3 separate regions of the Homo sapiens genome follow, and all the other regions are linked to region 2. Evidence: promoter capture Hi-C in 16 types of primary human blood cells and fetal thymus (Javierre and others, 2016). All regions are on one chromosome and are shown on one strand. Each heading gives the region's core, a stretch centred on a gene start or on the middle of the fragment in contact. The rest is flanking DNA. Distances are from core to core; before and after follow the strand shown.

What was found. Contacts are between HindIII fragments. The CHiCAGO score rates a contact against its expected background, and 5 or more counts as called.
Region 1: a contact is called between the fragment with the promoter of IL20RB-AS1 here and the fragment with the promoter of NCK1 in region 2, in 17 of 17 cell types (fetal thymus, total CD4 T cells, naive CD8 T cells and 14 more). The highest score is 19.6, in fetal thymus.
Region 3: a fragment that was not itself captured here is called in contact with the fragment with the promoter of NCK1 in region 2 in 4 of 17 cell types (megakaryocytes, M1 macrophages, neutrophils and 1 more); the score reaches 7.1 in megakaryocytes.

The regions. Positions count from the first base shown.
Region 1 is chr3:136,980,249-136,983,844 of GRCh38, forward strand. It overlaps IL20RB-AS1 (IL20RB antisense RNA 1), which reads right to left and starts at 1,943. Exons shown (of 4, transcript NR_183729.1): 1 at 1,815-1,943. It overlaps IL20RB (interleukin 20 receptor subunit beta), which reads left to right. Exons shown (of 7, transcript NM_144717.4): 2 at 218-344; 3 at 1,912-2,102. The HindIII fragment of the contact is 2,087 bases long and covers 696-2,782 here.
Region 2 is chr3:136,859,884-136,863,717 of GRCh38, forward strand. NCK1 (NCK adaptor protein 1) reads left to right here and starts at 2,325. Exons shown (of 4, transcript NM_001291999.2): 1 at 2,325-2,470. NCK1-DT (NCK1 divergent transcript) reads right to left here and starts at 2,180. Exons shown (of 3, transcript NR_110177.1): 1 at 1,864-2,180. RefSeq lists enhancers at 1,254-1,303, 1,864-1,923, 2,984-3,063, 3,074-3,193 and a silencer at 2,284-2,343. The HindIII fragment of the contact is 9,923 bases long and covers 1,277-3,834 here.
Region 3 is chr3:136,757,300-136,761,143 of GRCh38, forward strand. No RefSeq gene overlaps it. Among named protein-coding and RNA genes, the nearest start is that of STAG1-DT, 6.6 kb to the left of the region's middle. The HindIII fragment of the contact is 2,023 bases long and covers 1,163-3,185 here.

The DNA.
Region 1 (3,596 bases), core at 693-3,192, 120 kb after region 2:
ATGATAAAATTAGAGTTGTTTCTGGTTTATAAACATGTGAGGCTTTTTTTTTTTTGAGACAGAGTCTCATTCTGTTGTCTAGGCTGGAGTGCAGTGGTGCAATCTCAGCTTACTGCAACCTCCGCCAGTGAGGCCCTTCATTAGACACTAATTTGAAGCTATGGCATTCCCCCACTATGAGCCCACCTGTCAGCCAGGCTATCTGCCTTGATCCTAGATGAAGTGGCCATTCTGCCTGCCCCTCAGAACCTCTCTGTACTCTCAACCAACATGAAGCATCTCTTGATGTGGAGCCCAGTGATCGCGCCTGGAGAAACAGTGTACTATTCTGTCGAATACCAGGGGTGAGTTTTTTCTTTTAATAGTTCTTCTCCCTTAAGCAGAAGTTGGTTCCTGAAGGCATAGCCCTTCCTCCTGAGCCCAAGGTGGCTTTTTGAGTCCAGGGATAGATTATCCCCAAAGATCTACCCCCTCTGTCTGCATAGGCATTGAAAGAGTTGAAGAAGCAAGGGAAATTGTTCTGTGGATTTGACAGTGAACTCTCTGGGAAGATGAATGTGCATAACACATTTTGGTGGAGTTATTTTAAAAAGTGAATCAACTGTCCAATGGGTTTGACTCTGACTTGAGATGGATAAATCACTGGAGACTCAGATCCTTTAAGGGTGGAGGAGTCCTCACTTTTCCTGACTATAAGCTTATACCTAGAGCCAAAACGAACTATAATCCTAAAGGTCAGCTGGCCCTGGGGCTGAGCAGGCTCTAGTCTTCTCCAGGTGTTCAGGTGCTTGCAGCTATTGAATAGTGATAAGGACACAGAAATTGCTCCATATATTTCATTAACAATGAATACAGACTGAACACCTACATGTGTAGACATTCTTCTAGGCTCAGGGATACAGTTGACAAGGTTTCTGGATTTTGAGAGCTTACATCTAGAGGAGGATACAGATGATAAATATACTAGGCCAGCATTCTCTAGTATGGTAGCCACCAGCCACAGCTGGCTATTTAAATTTAAATTAAATTAAATTAAATTAAATTAAATTAAAATGTCTGTTTCCTGCCACACTAGTCACATTTTAGGTGTTCAATAGCCACATGTGGCCAGTGGTTACCATATTGAACAACATCGATTTAGAATATTTGCATCATCACAGAAAGTTTATTTTTGGAAAGCACTGCTCTAGGGAATTTTGGATAGTAATCAGTGCTAGGAGGAAGCTAAAAGGCTGATGCCATAGAGAGTTGACACTGAGGCTCCTTTATATTAGATGGCCTGGGATGGCCTCTCTGAGGAGGTGATATTTATGCCATATCTGAAGGACAAGAGGAGCCAGCCATGCGAACAGCAGGGGCAGAGCGTTTGAGATGGAGTGAACAGTTAGTCAAAGGTCCTAAGGCAAAAAGTGCTCAGCATTTTGGAGAAATGACCAATGTGGCAAGAATATCACGCTTCGGAGCAGAGTGAGAGAGAAGGCCAAAGCATCTTGTAAGACCACTGGCAAGAGTTTGGATCCCATTCTAAGTCCTGTAGGAAGCCATTAAGGAGAGAAACGTCACAATCTGCTGAGTGGTGAATGGTTTTGAGAATGGCAGGTGTCCAAGCTGGGAGATCACAGCAAGGCAAGGAATGACAGTGGCTGAGATTAGGGTGATGACCCTGGAGATGAAGAGATAAAAGAGATCCAGACACATTGATGTTTATGCCTAGCTTTCCCTATCTGGCAATAAAAGGAGTAAGGGACGATGGATGGTTGGTAGGGAGGAGAGTGGAGGAGCTAGGATAATGAGAAAGTACTTATTTTACTTACCTGTACAAAGTAGGTGAACGAAGTCAGTTACTTGCAACCATAACTGAGCCTGTGTCAGAGGGGCTGGTGTAACTCTGTGCCCTCCTCTCTTTGACAGGGAGTACGAGAGCCTGTACACGAGCCACATCTGGATCCCCAGCAGCTGGTGCTCACTCACTGAAGGTCCTGAGTGTGATGTCACTGATGACATCACGGCCACTGTGCCATACAACCTTCGTGTCAGGGCCACATTGGGCTCACAGACCTCAGCCTGGAGCATCCTGAAGCATCCCTTTAATAGAAACTCAAGTAAGGCACTTCTCTCCTTACACTCCCACCCCAACCAGCCCCTCCTTTAGGAACCATGTTCACCTAAACTTTCTAGACTCTTTTTAGCATCAGAATAGTCCTGCAAAGCCAGAGTATTGTGAACACAAACAACCCTTACTGGTATATTTGAAAAATTGCCAACTGCTTTCTACATGCTGCTCTCTGTCATGCCCTTTGACTACTCAAGTCATTCCTGACTGTCTGTGTCAGGGTGTGCAGGTGTTGGGGATGCTGACATTGGGAACCTGGAAGGAAAGCTGCTCTGGAAGTGAAGAGGTGGCACCAGGACTGCTGCTCCCTACTCTGATTGTGCCTCCATAAATTGTGCCTCCCACTTGAGGCCTCATTAACTGCATATTTACTGCCCACGTAAGCAGCTTTGTTGTGCAAGAGGATTTATACACTTAACAGAGCCACCAGAAAATTGCCCTTCTGTAATGACTTCTGTGGGAAATAAATAACTTTTCTTTTGGAGTAGTACCTGGAAAAGGATTGAGAAAGAAGTAATAGAGGAATCCAGATAGGTGGCCAAATGTGGCTGAGTACAAGCACTGGTCATTGTATAAAAGGACATGTGTGTTTGCGGAACAGGAGAGGCAAGGGCTGATGGGCAGGGGGTAGGGAAGCAGTTGATCATGTGGTGAAGGGCTTTGACACGAAGCTTGACCAAGTCAGTAGAGGGTAGCCAATGAAAGAGGAGAGGATCTAGACCAGGTCTATCTCTTTTTTTTTTTGATACGGAGTCTCACTCTGTCACCCAGGTTGGTGTGCAGTGGCGTGATCTCAGCTCACTGCAACCTCTGTCTCCTGGGTTCAAGTGATTCTCCTGCCTCAGCCTCCTGAGTAGCTGGGACTACAGGCGTGCACCACCATGCCTGGCTAATTTTTGTATTTTTAGTAGAGACAGGGTTTCACTATGTTTTCCAGGCTGGTCTGGAACTCCTGACCTCAAGTCATCTGCCCACTTCGGCCTCCCAAAGTGCTGGGATTACAGGCATGAGCCATGGCGCCCGGCCGACCAGGTCTATCTTACAAAGCAACACTCTGGCTGCTGTGTGGAAAGTGAACCAGAGTAGGGCAAGCCTGCAGGACAGGGGAAGAGTGAGGAGGGGGTTGTAATACTCCTACTGATCCCAAGAGTTTGGAAGGGGATGGGAAGGAGATGATGAATCCAAGAAACATGGCTGATTTAGAAAGGACAGAGCTTAGGAATCAAGTTTGTGGGGACAGAAAAGGGAGAGATAATGATAGTATTCAGCTGTCAAATGGAATTGGTGAGAACACCAGCTAAGGCAAATAACCCAGGGGGAAACAACTGGTCTTGAAGAATAGGAGACACCCCCGGCTTTGAGACTGAGATTTCTACAAGATGTCATCTTGTGGATGTCTGACTGGCAGCTGGAAATCAGTCCCTGAGGCTTAGAAAGCTCAAAGGCAGATACATAACACAAAGTGGTTTTGTTTGTTTGTTTG
Region 2 (3,834 bases), core at 1,075-3,574:
TAGAATCTGTACTTTGAGTACCCATAAAACCATCCAGTTTTTCATTCAGTATTTAGTAGATTACATGAAATACTCAATACTTTATTAAAAAATAAGCTTTGTATTAGATGATTTTGCCTAACTGAAAGCTAATGTAAGTATTCTGAGCATGTTTTAGGTAGGCTACTCTAAGCTATGATGTTTGGTAGGTTAGAAGCATTAAATGCATTTCTGACTTAAGATCTTTTCAACTTAAGGTATTTTCAGTTTATGGTGGGTTTATTGGAACATAACCCCTTTGTAAGTTAAGGAACATTTATATAGTCACATTAGGAGTGAGGGCTTCAGTATGAATTTTTGGGGGGGATGCAATTCAGTCCATACCAGTCATGATAAAATATGCAGTTATTTAAACCCTTAGAATAAACTCAAAATTCACCGCCATTATTCACTTTGGATGCTAATAACAGAATGTAGACATAGAGTAGCTGTTGCCCAGTTTCATGGTCTACTTGTCCCAGTCAACCTGAGGATAGTACAGCATAAATAGGTAAATTTGTGCTTGACCTTGTGATCCTACATATGGCAGGCTGTCTTAGTCCCTTTAGTGTTGCTAGAAAGGAATACCCAAAGCTGGATAATTTAGAAATAGAAAAGGTTTTTCGGCTTATGGTTCTGATGTCTGGAAAAGTTCAAGACTGAGCATCTGCATCTGATGGTAGCCTAAGACTGCTTCTACTCATGCCAGAAGGCAAAGGAGAGCTGGTGTGTGCAGAGATTACATGGCCAGAGAGGACGCAAAAGAAGAAAGGAAGTGCGACGTTCTTTTTAACCAGCTCTGGTGGAAATAAAGAGAACTCATTTACCCTCTCCCCAGGGAGGACATTAATCTATTCCTGAAGGAACCACCTCCATGACCCAACACTGCCCATTAGTCCCCACCTCCAACATTGGGGATCAAATTTCAACAGGAGGTTTAGGGGAACAAACATCTAAATTACAGCACAGGCCAACCACATGCATGCATTACCAATCACGTAAATAATTTTGAAGTTAAATGCAGAAAACTGCAAACTTTTGAGGCTGATATCCAGGGCCAGGATTAAAATAAAAAGTATTAATGCCTTAAACAGTATTTACTGACCATCTACCCTACTGCAAGGCCCTAGGGAGAAACTGAACAGACATGGTTACTGATTCAACGGAGTTTACAATCTAGGTAGACATACAGGCAAACCATTTCAATAGCTCGGATGGAGAAAACACCTGTGCTCCAAGGAAGGTACCTAACTGAGCAAGCTTCCCTGAGGAGCGATCCTAAACTGTGCCACAAAGATGGTTAAGAAGAGATGAGGCGGCTGGGCGTGGTGGCTCACGCCTGTAATCCCAGCACTTTGGGAGGCCGAGGCTGGCGAATCACGAGGTCAAGAGATCGAGACCATCCTGGTGAAACCCCGTCACTGCTAAAAATACAAAAACATTAGCTGGGCGTGGTGGTACATGCCTGTAATCCCAGCTACTCGGGAGGCTGAGGCAGGAGAATAGCTTGAACCCGGAGGCGGAGGTTGCAGTGAGCCGAGATCGTGCCACTGCACTCCACCCTGGCGACAGAGCGAAACTCGTTTCAAAAAAAAAAAAAAAAGAGGCAGGTTACGGCGCGGGGGCGGGGAAGGGGGCCTGCAGCACCGGCGAGGGGAAGAACCAACTTACTGATGCCTCAGCCAGTGGCTGGAGCCCTAAGAATGGACAGACCTGGCTCCGAAGGTCCTCTTCATAACACTACTGCCGCCAAGAATGTAAGCTGCCCAAGCACGAGGACACTTTTAGAGGGCCCTCAGACTCAGCTTCTTTTGGTCTGTGCCTCAAATTAAGCACATGTCTTACATTTCTCCCAGGTCCCAATTTTCAGGTCTGCTTTTCTTTGTTTTTCTTTGTCGCTCCCCGCTCCTAAGAACCTTCGGCTGGGATGACATTCTTCAGGTGCAGAAACCAGGGGGAAGCTCCCAGAGCAGTGGGGGCTGAACTCAGGACACAGTCATTTTTGCTGTTAAGTCTCTCCTGCGGCGCTGAGGAGGCAGGCTCAAAGTAACCAACCAGAGCAGCCGCAGAGGGAAAAGCTAAGACAGTTCTGGTCCGGCCCAGCGCTTCTCACCCTCTAGCTCTCTACTCTCCGCCGCGCAGCCTCCGCTCCCTCCACATCAGGCACGGCGCTTGATTGACATGAGGGCCCGCCCAATCCCAGTGCGGCAGAGACCGTTGTCGCGTCAGGGACCGGGGAAGGGGGCGACTGAACCTATCAGATTGGGTCCAGAGTGGGTTTCCTGCCCGCGCGGATCCGCCTGCCCACCGCGCGTGCCCCGCCTCTCTCCCAAGAGCTACGCGGCGGCGGCGGAGCGCAGGCCTCGTGCCGTTACGGCCATCACGGCGGCCGCAGTGGCGTCCTGGAGCCCTCCTCAGGTGAGCTGGAGCTGCCCGGCTCGGCAGCGGGAAGGTGAGACGGCCTTGTTGGCAGGCAGACACACACACACCCCCCTTCAGTCCGCTGTCCGTCCATACAGCCTGTTACTCGCTGCGTCGCTTCCTCTTCTCGCGCTGAGTTAGCCCCGGGGGCGCCGTCTGCAGGCTCGGAGCCGAGCCGGAGGGGGCGCGGAGGCTGCTCGGAGGGTCCAGACTTCTGCACCGGGATTCCGCGAGACCCTCGGGCCGTTGCCCCAGGGAGCGTGACCCCGCGGCCTCCTTGTCAGCCCCTGGAGCGCTGTGTCGGGCTGAGAGCCCGGGCGGCCGCCCGTGCGAGCCTGGGAGGTCGAGTGTGCGGCGCGCTGGTTGACTTGTCTGTTTTCTCATGAAAAAGTCCTTTTGCCAGCTGTGGCGTAATCCGAGGCCGGGAAGGTAGGGACGTGGTAGGAGGAAGGGCGCTCTCACCTCCAGCCCGAGAGGAGGGGAGGCGTCAGCCTGCGCGGTGCTGCGGGTGGACATCTTCGGGACGCGCCCTCTCCCCTCCCCCCACCCACCGGCCGTTTTCTAGTCTGGGGCTGTGACTTTAATGGTCTGGACCTGCTTCAGATTCGTACGCGAGTTGCTGGGGCTGTGAACTTTTGACTTGAGTTGTAATATGTTTGGTAAAACAAAAAACCATTTCGATAGGTTTTGTAACCTTTCTTCTGTATTAACATACAAGTTAAATTCGCCGTTAGAAGCTCAGGAAGCTGGGTTTTGTTCAGGGGTGAGGACGTAACCGTAGGAACGCTCTCGGTGTCAAACTGATGGACCCGGAGTCACCTGAAAATAATTATGCACGTTAGATTAGGTAAGAAGCCCTAGAAATTAGGAAAGAATTAGGTTAAAGAGAATTTCCTAACTCCTCTTTGGGTAGGGAGCAAAGCAGCTCAATGTCCTCCCAAAACGGGTGTTGCCAAAAGGTACTCATTTTTAAAATTTTACTTTGATAGACGTATGACAAACCAACTATAACGATTTCTTCAGCACCTGGAAACCAGTGTGCCTAGACTCTCAGCCTTCGGCGAGGTCACACAGTAAACGGAGAAATAACCTAAGAAGAAAGTTTTGTTTGGTAATTGTCAATAATATTCGTTCTTTTCTTTTTAAAACACTTAATTTTCTTGTGGGGGGTGGAGTCTGTGATATTCTTAAATAGGCATCCCATTCACAACTTGATAGTAATATGCACTGGTTGATAAATGGTGCTTTCTTTTCATCTTGACCACAAACTCTGAGACTTCTTTGGGAAAATTGTGATCTGTGGAAATTGGCTGTAATATCCATAAACATAGTTTGCAGAGTGTTCACATCTACTCAGCTGTTGGCTCATGTATTAAATTTTAAAATGTGTACTTA
Region 3 (3,844 bases), core at 924-3,423, 100 kb before region 2:
AAAAAAATCTTTGTAGAGATGAGGTCTCACTGTGTTGTCCATGCTGGTCTCAAACTCCTGGACTCAAGCAATTCTCCCTAACTTGGCCTCCCAAGATGCTGAGATTACAGGTGTGAGCCACTGCGCCCAGCCTAATGTGACTGTCGTCAGTTAATTTTTCAGCAAACCTTCAGCAGAGGGAAAACTTCCCTTTGTTATTACATATAAAAGTTTTCCCTTCACCCCTACGATATGAAAAATAATGTAATTCTTCAGACACATGCCCATCAGAACTTTAATTCAACTCAATCTCTTAGCCAACCTGGTCCAAAAGTAGATATTTAATGTTATAAATAGAAAAAAAAATGCATTCTATAGCCTATGAAATGGGAAGACATTGAACAGGGGTTGCAATAGTTTAAAAGATTTTTATATAGTGTTGTTTTACTGGGAGCTTTAGATTGCTTTTCTTGTTTTCCTTGCAAATATACCAAATTGTGTTTCTGAAAATGCATTAGTTCTAATTAACATTTATTAACCAATAACATGAAGAACTTTGCTTTATAACCCAAAGAATGAGTTTCTGATTGTGTAGATTGCACAGTTTCTTTAAAATTTGGGCCAGACTTATGTCTTTTTCTCTCTGGATAATTTTAGCACACAAAAGATTTCAGTTATTCTATTGGCCTTACAGTTAGAGTAAGACACATTAAATCAACTTTTTTTGCGTGAGGATAATGGTGATATTTCTTACACAGAAAGGATTTTTAAAGTAAAATTTGGGCCGGGCGCGGTGGCTCATGCCTGTAATCCCAGCACTTTGGGAGGGCAAGGTGGGCAGATCACTTGAGGCCAGGAGTTTGAGACCAGCCTGGCCAACATGGTGAAACCCCATCTCTACTAAAACACAAAAATTAGCCGGGCGTGGTGGCGCACACCTGTAATCCCAGCTACTCGAGGGGCTGAGGCAGGTGGCAAGAGAATCGGTTAAACCCATGAGGCAGAGATTGCAGTGAGCCAAGATTGCGCCACTGCATTCCAGCCTGGCTGACAGAGTGAGACTCCGTCTCAAAAAAAAAAAGAAAAGTAAAATTTGATTCGTCATTCTTCCCTTTCCTTCCCCTTTTTCAGAGTTCCAAGTGCAACTGCTCGATATCTAGAGCAAAGAGAGGTCTTCTGATCAAGCTTCCTCACCCTTCATTTTTACCACCTCCACAAACCCTGTGTTTCAGGGATCATGACCACTGTCTCATCTTAATCTCCCCCAAATCAAGTATTCCTTTGCATTTTTCACTTGGTCACAAGGCATTTGTTCTTTCTTACGTTGGTAGACCTTTGCAATTATCAGAAATAATTTTCCCTTCTTTTCTACTCTTGCAATTAAGGTGTGCTGCCAATTGGTGGCAGTAATATGCCATGGTGTCCTCCCTACTGGATTTAAACCATTATTTTTCCTTTTTTTTTTTAATTTTTTTTCTTTTTGGAGACAGAGTCTCACTCTATTGCCCATGCTGGAGTGCAATGGCGCGATCTCAGCAAACTGCAACCTCCGCCTCCTGGGTTCAAGCAGTTCTCCTGCTTCAGCCTCCCGAATAGCTGAGATTACAGGTGACTGCCACCATGCCCGGCTAATTTTTGTATTTTTAGTAGAGACAGGGCTTCACCATGTTGGCCAGGCTGGTCTCAAACTCCTGACCTTAGGTGATCCGCCTGCCTCGGCCTCCCAAAGTGCTTGAATTACAGGCGTGAGCCACCGCGCCCAGCCTAAAAACACTATTCTTTCTACAACTGAGCAAGCAGCCAGGCCCAGTGACTCACACCTGTAATCACAGCACTTTAGGAGGTTGAGGCAGTCAGATCTTTTGAGGCCAGAAGTTCAAGACCAATCTGGGCAACATAGGGAGACCCCATCTGTATAAAAAATAAAAAATTAGCTGGGCAGGATGGCGCACACCTGTAGTCCCAGCTACTTGTGAGACTGAGATGGGAGGATCACTTAAGTGAGCCATGATCATGCCACTGCACTCCAGCCTGGGTGACACAGCAAGACCCTTTCTCAGATAGGCAGACAGACAGATGTATAACTAAATCAATAAATTCTGCCCCGTTCTTGGTAATAAGATGGTAAGAGGGATCCAGAATACCTTCCCTTTCAGAATCAGTAACCTGGTTATAGGCAAAACTCTATTCTCAAAAAGCAGAGGATCGGAATTGCTCAGATATTTTTTTAAAAAGAAATTTTGGCCAGGCGCGGTGGCTCACGCCTGTAATCCTTACCCAGAACTTTGAGAGGCCAAGGCGGTGCGGATCACAAGGTCAGGAGATCGAGACCGTCCTGGCTAACACGGTGAAACCCCGTCTCCACTAAAAATACAAAAAATTAGCTGGGCGTGGTGGCAGGCTCCTGTAGTCCCAAATACTTGGGAGGCTGAGGCAGGAGAATGGTGTGAACCCGGGAGGCGGAGCTTGCAGTGAGCCGAGATCATGCCACTGCACTCCGGGCTGGGTGACAGAGCGAGACTCCATCTCAAAAAAAAAAAAAAAAAAAACTCACAGGCAGAGGGCTGGAACTAGTGTGGGTAGGAGCTAAGAGTTATTATTATTTAGAGACTCAAGTGCCAGTAGAACAACCGTTTTCTTAGTCCAAGTTTCTTGATGTCCTTGGGATTCCACTTTATGGCTTATTTCAAAAGACCTGTATGAGGCCTGGACTACTTTGAGGAATCATCCTTTTTTTTTTTTTTTTAAAGTCGGAATCTTGCTGTGTTACCCAAACTGGAGTGCAGTGGCATGATCTTGGCTCACTGCAACCTCCGCCTCCCGGGTTCAAGCGATTATCCTGTCTCAGCCTCCCAAGTAGCTAGCATTACAGGTGCACACAACCACACCCAGCTAATTTTTGTATGTTTAGTAGAGACAGGGTTTCACCATATTGGCCAGGCTGGTCTCAAACTCCTAACCTCAGGTGATCTGCTGGCGTCGGCCTCCCAAAGTGTTGGGATTAGAGGCGTGAGCCACTGCACCCCGGCCTGGGAATCATTCTTGATAGAATAGCTATCTAAAACATTGTTTCCATATAGGCAGAAAAACCAGCCTCTAATTTTATTTTCTGTAAAAGAAATGCACAATGGCAACAAATTAAAGGATACAAAATAAATTGTAACATATCAAACAGGACAAAAAAACATAACGTTGAAAAGCAACCAAGCTTCATCCTAACTCTACCGCCAGGGCCACTGCCCAAGGACAACATCTTTTACATGTTTTTGTTTGTTTGGAATTACTTCAATATTTCTAAATATGCTCATTCAACTTTAAATAAAATCTAATGACTCCCTGCTACAAAGGATAAAGATTATGTTAATACCCACTGGTCCAATATTTAACAGTTGCATTAAGTTTGCGTCTTTTGTTGGTTTTCTTTGTAACTTTTTTTTTTTTTTTCCTTTTTGGAGACACGGTCTCCCTCTGTTGCCCAGGCTGGAGTACAGTGGCATGATCTTGGCTCACTGCAACTTCTTCCTCCCAGGTTCAAGCAATTCTCCTGCCTCAGCCTCCTGAGTAACTGAGATTACAGGTGTGGGCCACCATGCCCAGCTAATTTTTATATTTTTAGTGAAGACGGGGTTTCACCATGTTGGTCAGGCTTCTCTCAAACTGACCTCAGGTGGTCTGCCTGCCTCAGCCTCCCAAAGTGGTGGTATTACAGGCATGAGCCACCACGCTTCTTTGTAACTCTGAATAATACAAGATAAAACACTAGATAACATTTCAACTTTAGGTAGTATTACAACTCTCCACTATTAACACCACCATTCTTCCTTCACACCTTTTTCTCACCTCCCTTAAACACAAGAAGTCTTTT